5 separate regions of the Homo sapiens genome follow, and all the other regions are linked to region 1. Evidence: promoter capture Hi-C in 16 types of primary human blood cells and fetal thymus (Javierre and others, 2016). All regions are on one chromosome and are shown on one strand. Each heading gives the region's core, a stretch centred on a gene start or on the middle of the fragment in contact. The rest is flanking DNA. Distances are from core to core; before and after follow the strand shown.

Region 1 (2,700 bases), core at 178-2,677:
CAGAGTACCTGGGAGAGGGGACGGGTGGAGAAAGTGCAGGGAATCACTGGCATATCCACGATGCCCAAAGTCATGGCTATGGATGTGATTGCCAGGGAAGTATGTGCTGCTGTTGGTCAGGCAACTGGTCAGCTTGAACAAAAATAATCAAAACTCTGTGCATGATAAATACCTGTGACCTGAGGATAGCCTGGCTACCTTACTGGGACCACAGTGTAAATATTGTTGATGACCTGCTGTACCTTAGGCACCGTGCTAGACAGTGCCTTGCACTATCAGGTTATCTCATTTAAATCCTTGCAGTTTTCAAGATGAGTACTGTTAATCCCATTACCAGATTGAGAGAACAGAAACCCAGAGAGTTTAAATATCTTACCCAAGTGAGAGCGCTCATAAGACAGGGCCGAAAGTGACTGAATGCTTGCCCTCTTCTCCCACACTGCCCACAGTGTTTGGGCAAGGTGAAAAAACAGGCTCAGATGGGAATGACTGCAGGGAGTCTGAGGAGAGGATGTGGGCTCCATCTTCTGCTCCACTGGGTCATCTGGAGTGGCCTGAGGCTCAGCACTACTCCCACCAGGAGGGAAGGGCTTGCTTGACCCAAAGTGCCTAGCCTGGAGTGTCTAGTCCCGCACTGCAAGGAGAGCTGCAGGTCTAAGGCAAACCTCCACCTCCAGAATTCAGGCAATGGTGGCTAAGATGAGAGGACAGTTATCCATCCACTGACCCTGGCCCCTCACACTCTTAAGCCCTGGTCTTCCACATACCCTGACCCAGCATACCTGTACTCTCCAACACCCGAGGATGGGCCTGAGCTGAGTCTGTGTGCTGCTTTACAGAGTTTGAATAATTCAAGCCCCAGAGGCCCGAGGTATCAGTTTCCGTTGCTCTGTTGTCATAGGCACGGTGTAATTAAGCTAATGAAAGGGCAGAGAGGGAGGGGCTGTGGTCCTGTGCCTCGGACGACTCTGGGCTGATCAAGGGAGGAGTCCCTGGTCCCTGTTCTGCTGAGAGAGCAGCAGGCCCATCTAGAGTCCAGGTGTGGGGAATGGAAGAAGGAAGGAATGAGGGATGAAACAGAAGTAGGAGAAAGGGAGAGAGAGTGGAAAGAGGCAGGCAGGGGATGATCAGAGTCAGGGAGGCAGAGAGACCAAGAAAGTTACAGACGGAAAGAGAAGGAAGCAGAAACAGAGTGAAAGACAAAGCAGGTGGGGAGCATAGGAAAGGGCAGAGGCAGAGGCCAGAAGAGGCAAGGACCAGCAGAGAAGAAGAAAGACCAAGTACTAAAATCCAGGGGCAGGCACAAATTGGAGGGTCAGAAGACTGGAGGGGCTGCAGGGCTCGCTGGAGGGTGGCTGGACCCACCAGAGATCTGTCTTACTTCTGACTTCTAGGTACTGTCCACACCATCCTTGCCAGCTGGGCCTAATTTTGCCCTAGGTCTGGCCAGGAGGCCTCACATCCAGAGACCTGCCCCCGCTCTTGCAGTGCCAGGGCCATGGGGCTCCGGAGCCACCACCTCAGCCTGGGCCTTCTGCTTCTGTTTCTACTCCCTGCAGGTATGAAGCTCAGTACACCAGCCCTGGCCTCTCCTGGTGGTGCTACTATTCCTGTTCTCCCAAAATCCCTTTCCATGTAGTCTCTCTTGTGTTTCTCCTCAGTACCTGTTCTGAGAACAAGCTCTCTATTTGGGGAGTGTGGAGGAGAGGGGTGCTGAAGTGCGTGAGAGGAGACTTGCCTGGCTAGGGTGGAAACAGTGAGCGGGGAGCTTCCAGAGACAGGGCTGGGAAAATCAGAGGGGCCAGATGTTGAAGGGCCTGCCGGCCAGGCCAGGTCTTTCTCCTGCAGATGACGGGGAGCACTGAAAGGTTTCAGCAGCATACTAGCCTGGTCAGATGTGCATGCTTAAAAGCGTGGTCCTGGGGCATGGGAGGGGTAGAAGAAGGTGAGCCTTTGGGGAAAGGGAGACAGTGAAGGGAGGGCCCTGACCTGGAGGGGAGAGGGTAGACTCAAGACGATGTTTCGCAAAATCTGGAGGATTTGAATGATCTGACAGGATCTGGAGATTAACTGGATTCCCCGAGGAGGAGGCAGCAGAGGGAGAAGGGAGGGATAATTCCCAGATTTCCAACTAAGGTCACTGTTGAAGCTGAGGGCATGCTATTTGCTGAGATAGGGAACATGGGATAGGAAGCAGGTTTCAGAGCATGGAGGGAGGAAGCGAGTTCATATTTTGGACCCTCAGAGTTGAAGGTGCCTGTGGGAAACTCAGGAGTGGACTGTACTCTATTGGGGTCTGGAGCTCAGGAGAAAAATCTGGGATGAAGAAAAAGATGGGAGCCAAGGACAGGATTCATGGGAACAATGTTTAGGTCAGGGATTGAGGAAAATTTGTGTCAGTAAAGCCTGGGGAAGTGTGTTTTCAGAGTGAGGGAGTGTTCCATCGCATCAGAAGTTTTGAAGAAACCAGCTCGAGATGGAGAAGTGGAAACAGGTTTGAGAGATACTGGAGGGGGCAGAGCAGTGGGGTTTAGAATCCCTGGGTGAAAGTCTGGACTCTTGTGGCTTATTTGGGCCCCTCTAGCATTTGTGGAGAGGCAGGCAGACTCCAGGTCCTTGAAAAGGGGAGGGTGGAGGAGAAATTTGTCAGCCTGGCGCCAGAAGATAGTACCAGTTCACTCCATGGCCTTTACCTCATGT
Region 2 (2,700 bases), core at 52-2,551, 400 kb before region 1:
ATTAAATTTATGCCAAAGGACTCAGGAGAGTCCCCTGCTGCCCCCAGGCCCTGAGTTCCTTTCCTAAGTATCTTCCTTAGTGGATAAGATCTCAAGGGCATGAGTTATAATGTAAGTCTACCCTTGCACCGTCACACACATTCCCTCAGTTCACCGACAAAACCTTCCATCCAGCTAAACAAGCCTTCCCGCTTCTTCACTTCTTTCCTCCACACGGCTATCTATGTTAATACACTCATTCATTCATCTATTCATTCACCGAGTTCTTTCAAGTGCCTACTAAGTGCCAAGCCCTGTGCTAAGCCCTAAATACGTGGCGATAAATCAGAAAGCTCTCCCTGCCACTGAGGAGCTCATGATTTACTCCAACAAAGACAAGTAGACAGATAACTGTATTCAGTGTGACAAATTCTATAATAGAAAGAGATAGATATAGATATATAAGGTCTTGGGTCTTCCCAAAAGATGGAGTCATCAGCTCTGCCTGAAAGGAGTCAGGGAAAGAAAGAGAGACTTGGGCTACACCCAGAACAAAGACTGAGAGTTTGCTAATCCCTTTGGAAGAGAAAACGGACTTTACTGTCTGGTCTTCCTTTCTAAGTAAAAACCACCAGGTTACCAGGGGACCAGATTAGGAAGGAGAAAGGATGGTGAAGAAGAGATAAGATATATAGCTTAGACTTGAGGTATAGAAAAGAAAGGATAGACTACAGAACAAGAAGGACCCCTAGAGAACACTGACCACTGAGATAATTAAGTAGATGAAACAAACAGAACTCAATCTGTAAAAAAAAAAAAAAAAAAAAAACCTCTAAGTCCAGAGCTATCAGTGGCGGAGACTTCAAAAGACATCATGGAACAAGCAAGGAGGTAAGAAGAGGAAATGTTAGGCTGCAAGCTTCCCGCAAATTGTGATCTGCCTAATTTGTCCCTGAAGAGAAAGGGAGTTGAACCCCCTGAAAATGAACACCAGATGGCGATATATGCATAGGCAAAGACAAATCAGAGGCGCCATTTCCTGCCATCTCCTTCCCTTGCTGAATATCCTCCTTTACTGTACTCTTCCATGACCCAACTATATAAAGTTACACCATTAAGGATTCACTTCTTCACTGAAATACTGTCCTTTTATGAAAGCAGCCTCTTGAGAAAAGCCAATACTATGATATGTCTGTCCTTTATAATAATAGCGAGCTCCTTTAAAGTAGAATCAAGACTGACACCCTTTCATAGTTCCAATAAGGTCTGTTAGAGATGGAGAACAATAATCATTGTTGGGTGTAGAAATGAGCAAATAAGTATACAATTAAGCACTGCCCCACTCCAAGGCAACAACAATTAGCATTGCAATTAGTCCTGGCTCTAAGCAGTTGTGTGACTATGAGCAAGTTTTGCCTGTTTTGGGAATCAAAATTCCTGCCTGCCTCAAATAATTATCTTGAAACTCAATGAAATCCTAACTGGACTGTATATGTAGAATTATATTTATTCACATAAATTATCAGGAACTCTGTAATAAAGCTCTGTGAAAGCTGGCATTGCAGGTCTGTTAATACAAGGAGGAACCAGGTGGCATGTGGGCTCTGGACACTCAGAGGAGGATATATGTGTGCATGTGTGCAAGCCTATCTCTAGGGGGAAAAGGGGAGGGGTGTCTTTGTCTCTTTCTAAGTGCCACAGTGGTCATTTAGCTCTGGAAGCTTTAGGGAGCAGGGAGTGCTGGGAGCTTAGTTTTATCCCCAAACTTGGAATGTCTCCTGCCTAGATTCTTTTGCCTTTGGAATGGAAACAGTACATGTTTTTCAAACAAATGAGGTATGGGGACTGCTCAGACAGCAGCAGTTAGCTCCTAACTGGCAAAGGGCCCAAGAACAAGGGGCCCAGCAAAGTAGCCAGGAATCAGCTTAGAGATCAGACCCCTCTTGCTCCCTAGAAGCCCAGCCCATGGAAATAAATCCAATAAGTCTGCTACCTCAGTAGAGGCAGCACCCTGGAGTGTCAAAATTCCTAGTTCACTACTTACTGATATATGACCCTGAACAAAGCACTTACCCTCTCTGAGCCTTCATTTCCCCAACTCTAATAGTACCTACTTCAAAGGGCCATAGTGATTAAAAGTAATAATGCATTTAAGTATTTAACAATACCTGGCTCACAAGAAGTCTTGTCCCTACCCCTCCAAATTAAATAGTGTTTACCATTTAAAAATAACACAATGGCTGGGCACAGTGGCTCAGGCCTGTAATCCCAGCACTTTGGGAGGCTGAGGTAGACCTCTTGAGTCCAGGAGTTCAGGAAAAGCCTGGGCAACACAGCAAGACCCCTGTCTCTACAAAAAATAAAAAAATTAGCCAGGCATGGTGGCATGCACCCAGCTACACAGGAGGCTGAAGCAGGAGGATCTCTTGAGCCCAGGGGGTGGAGGCTGCAGTGAGCCATGTTCATGCTATTGAACTTCAGCCTGGGCAACAGAGCAAGACCCAGAGTCAAAATAATAATAATAATAATAAATAGAAATAAATGAAAAGACAAGACTTCATTTCCTTTTACATGAATTCCTGCAAAGACTTCCCAACTAGAGTCCCTAGGCTTCCAGAATCATTTTCTAAAAGACAGTCTTGAATAGACCTCTCCTCTTCTCGAAAACAAAACAACCAAAAAAACCTGATTTGACTCTCTATTGCCTTCTGCATCCTACTA
Region 3 (2,700 bases), core at 69-2,568, 480 kb before region 1:
CTGAGGCAAGAGGGCTGCTTGAGTCCAGGAGTTCAAAAACAGCCTGGGCAAAATAGCAAGACCCTACCTCTTAAAAAAAAAAAAAAAAAAAGCTTGAAGACTGTTGAATGCTGCCTAGTTTGTGGAGTATCAGGTATGTAGAACAGTCCTGGCCCCTGGCCAAAGCTTTGAAACAACTGCTGTAAGATCCCAATTAAATGTTCAGCCTCCTATTGTCTTCTTCCTGTTCCTCATGCACCTACTCAACAAGCAATTCTCAAGCCTGTCCTGCGCCTCTATGGTGACTCTGTGCTTGGAGCTCCAGTGAGCCCACCAGAAGCATGCTATTATCCCTGCCCTCCTGGAACCTACATTCTGAAAGGAAAGCAAACTCATCATCCATGACACTGAGGACAAGGCCAGGCAGCAGGCACCACAGCCAATCTACGAGGACTTAGGAAGGAAGCAGTCTCTGCAGCCTGTTTCTTGTGATCCAGGAAGACCAGAATTCTTCCTCAGCAACTTCCATCTCTCCTTGCCACAGTGTGTCCCAAGCACACAAGTGATGCCATCATTCCCGGCTGGTTCTTCTCTCCCTGTTAAGCCCCACTTGGGCCTTCCCAGACTCCTTGGATCAAAGATTCTTCTAATACTTTCTCTTCCTCTGAATCAAGAGTCTTCTTTTAACCTTTCTTGTTTTGTCTCTGGCTGTCACTCTTTTTCCCCTGTGTATACTACACCTACTTCTCCTCCTAATCTTTTACTGAGCAAATATCTGGAACATTACAAGTAAACAAGTATCTTGTAAGTTTACATTTACATTTCACACACATGAGGCCAAGAGCTCCCTGAGGACAAAGATTGTTACCTACAAAGATTGTAGGTAACTGTGTAGTTCCTACAACACCCGGCTTAGTACTTATCTGTGCCCCAAAGGAATACATACATGAAGAAGTAGGCTTTTATCACAAATTCCTCAGTGTCTACAACAGAAAAAGTCTTTTTAAAATTGACCATTTTGTTCTAACAGTCTCTGATCCCCACTCTTGGTGCCGGCCCAGGGCCAAAGCTAATGGGTGAGGATGGAAATACAAGCACCTTCAACATCTCCTGCACCAAGTTCTTCCTGGTGGGTTTCCCTGGACTTCGAGAGTGGTGGCCCCTTCTGGTCCTGCCTCTTGTCTTCCTCTTTGTGACCATCATCTCTGCCAATGCCCTGGTCATCCACACAGTGGTTGCCCGGCAAAATCTGCATCAGCCTACGTGTATGCTCATCACTGTGCTCCTGGCTGTCAATATTCGTGCTGCCACAGCCGTGATGCCTAAAATGCTGGAGGGCTTTGTATATTATGCTAACCCCATATCGCTGCATGGCCGCCTGGCCTAGGTGTTCTTTATCTACTTCACCCTCCTCCTGGACTACAACTTCCTCTGGCCATGGCCCTGGACTGCTACGTAGCCATCTGCCACCCACTCTGCTATTCTGACCTGATGACCTCCCAGCTGCTGGGACTGCTGGCCATTCTTGCCTTGACACAGAGCCTGGGAGTGACAGTGCCCTTGGTAGTACTAACTGCAAAAGCCCGATTCTGCCGGACAGCAGTGATTCGACACTTCACCTGTGAGTGCATTGCACTGCTGAGCATAGCTTGTGGAGACCTGACCTTCAACAACTGGCTGGGGCTGGCTATGTGTTTGGTCACTGTAATCTCTGATATGGCCCTGCTGGGGACCTCCTACACCCACATCATCTATGCTGCCTTCCGGATCTCTTCTTGGGGAGCCCAAGCCAAGGCCTTACACACGTGTGGCTCCCACCTACTGGTCATCCTCTCCATCTACGTCTCTGGTCTTTCCACTTCCATCACCTTCTGAGTAGCCAAGACTGTGTCCCAGAATGTCCAGAATCTACTCAGTGCCATATACTTGCTGCTTCCAGGAGCCTTGAATCCTGTCATTTATGGGGTGAGGACTAGGGAGATCCAGCAACATGTAGAAAAGATGCTCTGTGAAAAGGAAACAGCCCAGAAGGCTGGGGAGAAGCCAAAGAGGCTGCAGAACATGAGACTGGAAACCGCCAGGGTGAGGGACTTTACTACCTTCGAAAGTTGGGGCTATGATCTCTGAGAAGAGATAAGCAGGCAGTACTCAGGGACAGGCTCAAATTTCCTCAGCAGATTACGGGCTCAACAGCAGGTTCCCTGTTGGTCAACTGTTGCTTGTTAAATTCTTAGAATGCTCTTTGTTTTCACCCCCAGTAATAAAATTGCATTTACCTATTTATCCTTCTTGGTTTATTTTCTCTGTCCTCCTCCCAACTCCTGAGGAAGTCCCAACTAATATCTGGATGTATGGGGCTTCACTAAGGTAGTCTTATAGAGCAAGTCATACAGACCACAACCTGCCCTGTCTGAACAACACCCAGTCTGAAACAAATAAACAGGCGGGCACTTCCCTGAAGCCCAGTCTCTCCCAAACATAGCCTAAGCTTGACATGAAGTTTATTCAGACCTAATACACAGGTCATCCTTGAGGCTTCCAGTCTAATCCAGGTAGCAGGCTGGGTTCTAGAGTCCAGTCAGTCCCAAACACAAGTGAGGTCCTTTCCTGAGATCCCCAAGCTGTACAGGCACATAGGTCAGGTTTACCCTGCGATGTCCAGTCTAGCCCACACAAACAGGTCAGCTCCTGCCCAAGGGTCCCCAGTCTGACACACACCCA
Region 4 (2,700 bases), core at 167-2,666, 450 kb before region 1:
GACATATCCTTTTGTGGGGTCACCATTCAGCCCACTACAGGTACTCACAGGCAAAAACAATTCCATCCATATACTTACTCCTTTGCTAACTGGAGAGCCCTCATAGGTTTCGTATGGGCCCTGCTCCTTGGCAAGGTCACAGCTGGCTTCCAGAGCACCATAATAAATAGTTTCAAAGATCTGCTTATTCAGTAACTGGGCTTCTGCACTCTCAAAAGGGTATCTCATCAGGATAAAAGCATCTGCCAGACCTTGTACCCCAATTCCAATGGGGCGATGGCGTTTATTTGATAGGCATGCCTTTGTGTCAACAGATTTTAAAGAAAAGGAGAAAACATTACTGAACAGGAAAAGCAACATTCTGTACCAAATGAGACAGACTACCTCTTTTTCTCAAACCATTTTATTGATAACCATTTAAATGATGACTTGAAGATCATGATTGATTCCTTTCAATTTGGATTTCAATAATTACCAATAAGCAGAGAAATCTATTCATACCTCTGGTACAGGATAGTAGTTTATATCAATAATTTTATTCAAGTTTCGGACAACGACTTTAGTGACTTCAGCCAACTTCTTAAAGTCGTATGTGTGTTCTGATGTGACATACATATTCAGGGCCAGGGAAGCCAAATTACAAACAGCAACCTGGAATGCAAAAAACAGGTCAAGAATCACACAATTTTTATTTCTACTTCCTGTGTCAATTACACCACCATGTGAGCCTCTAATACTCAGACATTAAAATTTTAAATTTTTATATTTGACTTCTCCCTCTTCATCATTCATCAGTCCATTTCTAAATCCCACTGATTCTATTTCTTCAATACCTAGTCATATGTGTTAGTTATAACATGCATCAGCAAAATAGGTAAGAGAGAGAGAGAACCCTATGTTCCACAGTACACAGCTCTATTACCAGACATATATCACACTATGTTATAATTAGCTTTTTACATATACCTATCTCATTATTCAGTAGATGAGTGCCCTGCAATATGGTAGCCACTGGCTACATATATCTATTTAAAATGAAATAAAATTTGAGTTTCTCAGTTGCACTAGTCATATTTCAAGTGCTCAATAGCCATCAGATACAGAACATTTCCATCACTGCAGAGTTCTTCAAAACACACACGTCCACCTCACCTTCACTGATATTCTGACAAGCCCTTAGCAACAATGGATCTCAATTTGTGATTTCTGAAAAAGCTCTTCCAGTGATTTCTCCACTACACGAGGCAGTGAGCTTCTTCACACAAGGATCATCTTATTTATATTTATATGTTTAGCACTAGCAACACATCTGGCACACAGTAAGTCTTGATAATGTTGAATGAATACACTTTCTTTTCCATTTTGATTATGACTATCCCAAGCCAAAGTCTTAACTTCTCTCACATGGACTACTGAAAGTTTCCCAGTTGAACTCTTGATGCCCTTCACATCTACTCCATTCTACACATGTTGCCAAATACCCATTTTTTTAAATATAGCTTGAATCACAGAAGTCTAATAAATGCCAGGAAGAAAAATAGGCAGGAAAAGAAGACAGAGAGTACTGGGGATAAAGATGAAGGGGGTATAATTTTTAAACAGAATTGTCAAGAAGGACCTCATTGAAAATGTTACATATGAACAAAGAACTGAACAGGTTAGAAAGCAAATCATGTGGCTATGGGAAGAGGGGGTGCATTTTAACATTCAAGAGGGAAGAAGGAGCAAAAATCCTGAGGTAGGAGCATGGTTGACATGTTTGAGAAAAAGCAAGAAAATTAATAGGGTTGGAGCAAAGTGAACAAAGGGGAAAGTAACCGCAGATGAGGTGGGTTATCCAGTTGTGTAGGACCTTGTAGGGCACTGTAAGAACTCTGGATGGAAAGGAATGAAGTACTGATACATGCTACAACATGAATAAAAGAACATGTTAAGTGAAAGAAGCCTGACACAAAAGGCCACATATTATATGACTCCATTCCTATGGAATGTCCACAATGTCCACAAATCTAGAGACAGAAAATATATTAGTGGTTGTCAAGGGCTGAGGGAAGAAGGGAACAGGGAGTGACTGCTAATGGATAAAGGGTTTCATTATCTACAGTGATAAAAATGTACTACAGGCCGGTCACGGTGGCTCACGCCTGTAATCCCAACACTTTGGGAGGCTGAGGTGGGCGGATCACGAGGTCAAGAGATTGAGACCATCCTGGCCAACATAGTGAAACCTCGTCCCTACTAAAAATACAAAAATTAGCTGGGTGTGGTGGCACGCGCCTGTAGTCCCAGCTACTCGGGAGGCTGAGGCAGGAGAATCGCTTGAATCCAGGAGGCGGAGGTTGCAGTGAGCCGAGATCGAGCCACTACACTCCAGCCTGGTGACAGAGCAAGACTCTGTCTCAAAAAAAAAAAAATAAAATAAATAAATACTACAATTAGATAGTGGTAATGGTTGCACAGACTTGCAGATATACTAAAAAAAAGAAAAGAAAAGAAAAGAAAAAAAACACTGAATTGTACATTTTAAAAAGAGTGAATTATAGCTCAATTTGCAAAAAGAAAGAACTCTGTTGAGGTTGCAGTGAGCCACAGCCCAGCTTGGGCAACAGAGTGAAATCTTGACGCCCCCCGAAAAAAAAGGAATTCTGCATGGGTTAGCAAGCCAAAGAGTAGTTTTGTGCAGACAAATGACATTATCTG
Region 5 (2,700 bases), core at 92-2,591, 380 kb before region 1:
ACATATCTATACATGTGCCATGTTGGTGTGCTGCACCCATTAACTTGTCATTTACATTAGGTATATCTCCTAATGCTATCTCTCCCCCTTCCCCCCACCCCACAACAGGCCTCAGTGTGTGATGTTCCCCTTCCTGTGTCCAAGTGTTCTCACTGTTCAATTCCCACCTATGAGTGAGAACATGCGGTGTTTGGTTTTTTGTTCTTGCGATATTTTGCTGAGAATGATGGTTTCCAGCTTCATCCATGTCCCTACAAAGGACATGAATTCATCCTTTTTTATGGCTGCATAGTATTCCATGGTGTATATGTGCCACATCTTCTTAATCCAATCTATCGTTGATGGACATTTGGGTTGGTTCCAAGTCTTTGCTATTTTGAATAGTGCTGCAATAAACACACGTGTGCATGTGTCTTTATAGCAGCATGATTTATAATCCTTTGGGTATATACCCAGTAATGGGATGGCTGGGTCAAATGGTATTTCTAGTTCTAGATCCTTGAGGAATCACCACACTGTCTTCCACAATGGTTAAACTAGTTTACAGTCCCACCAACAGTGTAAAAGGGTTCCTATTTCTCCACGTCCTCTCCAGCACCTGTTGTTTCCTGACTTTTTAATGATCACCATTCTAACTGGTGTGAGATGGTATCTCATTGCGGTTTTGATTTGCATTTCTCTGATGGCCAGTGACGATGAGCATTTTTCCATGTGTCTGTTGGCTGCATAAATGTCTTCTTTTGAGAAGTGTCTGTTCATATCCTTCGCCTACTTTTTGATGGGGTTTTTTCTTGTAACTTTGTTTGAGTTCTTTGTAGATTCTGGATATTAGCCCTTTGTCAGATGAGTATATTGCAAAACTTTTCTCCCATTCTGTAGGTTGCCTGTTCACTCTGATGGTAGTTTCTTCTGCTGAGCAGAAGCTCTTTAGTTTAATTAGACTCCATTTGTCCATTTTGGCTTTTGTTGCCATTGCTTTTGGTGTTTTAGACATGAAGTCCTTGCCCATGCCTATGTCCTGAATGGTATTGCCTAGGTTTTCTTCTAGGGTTTTCATGGTTTTAGGTCTAACATGTAAGTTTTTAATCCATCTTGAATTAATTTTTGTATAAGGTGTAAGGAAGGGATCCAGTTTCAGCTTTCTACATATGGCTAGCCAGTTTTCCCAACACCATTTATTAAATAGGGAATCCTTTCCCCATTTCTTGTTTTTGTCAGGTTTGTCAAAGATCAGATGGTTACAGATGTGTGGTATTATTTCTGAGGGCTCTGTTCTGCTCCATTGGTCTAGATCTCTGTTTTGGTACCGGTACCATGCTGTTTTGGTTACTGTAGCCTTGTAGTATAGTTTGAAGTCAGGTAGCATGATGCCTCCAGCTTTGTTCTTTTGGCTTAGGCTCTTTTTTGGTTCCATATGAACTTTAAAGTAGTTTTTTCCAATTCTGTGAAAAAATTCATTGGTAGCTTGATGGGCATGGCACTGAATCTATAAATTACCTTGGGCAATATGGCCATTTTCACGATATTGATTTTTCCTATCCATGAGCATGGAATGTTCTTCCATTTGTTTGTGTCCTCTTTTATCTCATTGAGCAGTGGTTTGTAGTTCTCCTTGAAGAGGTGCTTCACATCCCTTGTAAGTTGGATTCCTAGGTATTTTATTCTCTTTGAAGCAATTGTGAATGGGAGTTCACTCATGATTTGGCTCTCTGTTTGTCTGTTCTTGATGTATAGGAATGCTTATGATTTTTGCACATTGATTTTGTATCCTGAGACTTTGCTGAAGTTGCTTATCAGCTTAAGGAGATTTTGGGCTGAGACGATGGGGTTTTCTAAACATACAATCATGTCATCTGCAAACAGGGACAATTAGCCAGGTGTGGTGGTGCACACCTAGAGTCCCAGCTCCTCAGGAGGCTGAGGTGGGAGGATCACTTGAGCCTGGGAGATTGAGCCTGCAGAGAGCCATGATCACGCCACTGCACTCTAGCCTGAGTGACGGAGTGAGACTGTTGCAAAACAGATAAAAAAAGATAATTTATGGCCAGGCAGTGGTTCATGACTGTAATCCCAGCACTTTGGGAGGCGAAGGCAGGTGGATCATCTGACCTCAAGAGTTCAAGACCATCCTGGCCAACATGGTGAAACCTCGTCTCTATTAAAAACACAGAAATTAGCCAGGCGTGGTGGTGCATGCCTGTAGTCCCAGCTACTCGGGAGGCTGAGGCAGGAAAATCGCTTGAACTCGGGAAGCAGAGGTTGCAGTGAGCCGAGATTGCGTCACTGCACTCCAGCCTGAGTGACAGAGCAATACTCCATCTCAAAAAAAAAAAAAAGACAATTTACCATTAAAGTGTTTTGATTCTATATTTATATTTTGGAAATAAGCTAAAAGTAAAAAGCAAAAGTTTATTCTGTATCATCTAGATATATAAGAATACAGGCTCTCAACTTCAGTGCTCATGTTGCATTTGTGTTTATAAGTGTGTTGATGCAAAATAGTTACAGTGACACCGTTCACCTTTAAACAATGCAGGTTTTAACTTCCTGGGTCCATTTATACATGAATTTTATACATGGATTTTTTTTTCAATAAAAGGTATACTGAGTGTGCCTGCTTCTCCCACCTCCCTTCCTACCTTCTCTATCTTTTCTGCCTCTGCCACCCCTGAGACAGCAAGACTAATCTCTCTTCTTCCT

The links. The method cuts DNA at HindIII sites, captures the fragments that hold promoters and counts their contacts. A CHiCAGO score of 5 or more calls a contact.
Region 2: a contact is called between a fragment that was not itself captured here and the fragment with the promoter of CHRNA10 in region 1, in 2 of 17 cell types (activated CD4 T cells and non-activated CD4 T cells). The highest score is 8.6, in activated CD4 T cells.
Region 3: a contact is called between a fragment that was not itself captured here and the fragment with the promoter of CHRNA10 in region 1, in 2 of 17 cell types (total B cells and total CD4 T cells). The highest score is 6.5, in total B cells.
Region 4: a fragment that was not itself captured here is called in contact with the fragment with the promoter of CHRNA10 in region 1 in 2 of 17 cell types (non-activated CD4 T cells and total CD8 T cells); the score reaches 6.0 in non-activated CD4 T cells.
Region 5: a fragment that was not itself captured here is called in contact with the fragment with the promoter of CHRNA10 in region 1 in 1 of 17 cell types (total B cells); the score reaches 5.1 in total B cells.

Annotation. Positions count from the first base shown.
Region 1 is chr11:3,670,111-3,672,810 of GRCh38, reverse strand. CHRNA10 (cholinergic receptor nicotinic alpha 10 subunit) reads left to right here and starts at 1,427. Exons shown (of 5, transcript NM_020402.4): 1 at 1,427-1,559. The coding sequence starts at 1,499. The HindIII fragment of the contact is 7,798 bases long and covers 1-2,700 here.
Region 2 is chr11:4,071,157-4,073,856 of GRCh38, reverse strand. All of the region lies in intron 6 of STIM1 (stromal interaction molecule 1), which reads right to left. Among named protein-coding and RNA genes, the nearest start is that of RRM1, 22 kb to the left of the region's middle. RefSeq lists an enhancer at 844-1,138. The HindIII fragment of the contact is 802 bases long and covers 901-1,702 here.
Region 3 is chr11:4,145,647-4,148,346 of GRCh38, reverse strand. It overlaps the pseudogene OR55B1P. Among named protein-coding and RNA genes, the nearest start is that of LINC02749, 40 kb to the left of the region's middle. The HindIII fragment of the contact is 2,302 bases long and covers 168-2,469 here.
Region 4 is chr11:4,124,635-4,127,334 of GRCh38, reverse strand. RRM1 (ribonucleotide reductase catalytic subunit M1) reads right to left here. Exons shown (of 19, transcript NM_001033.5): 13 at 502-651; 14 at 79-300. Among named protein-coding and RNA genes, the nearest start is that of RRM1, 31 kb to the right of the region's middle. The HindIII fragment of the contact is 4,129 bases long and covers 1-2,700 here.
Region 5 is chr11:4,050,983-4,053,682 of GRCh38, reverse strand. All of the region lies in intron 3 of STIM1 (stromal interaction molecule 1), which reads right to left. Among named protein-coding and RNA genes, the nearest start is that of RRM1, 42 kb to the left of the region's middle. The HindIII fragment of the contact is 4,973 bases long and covers 1-2,700 here.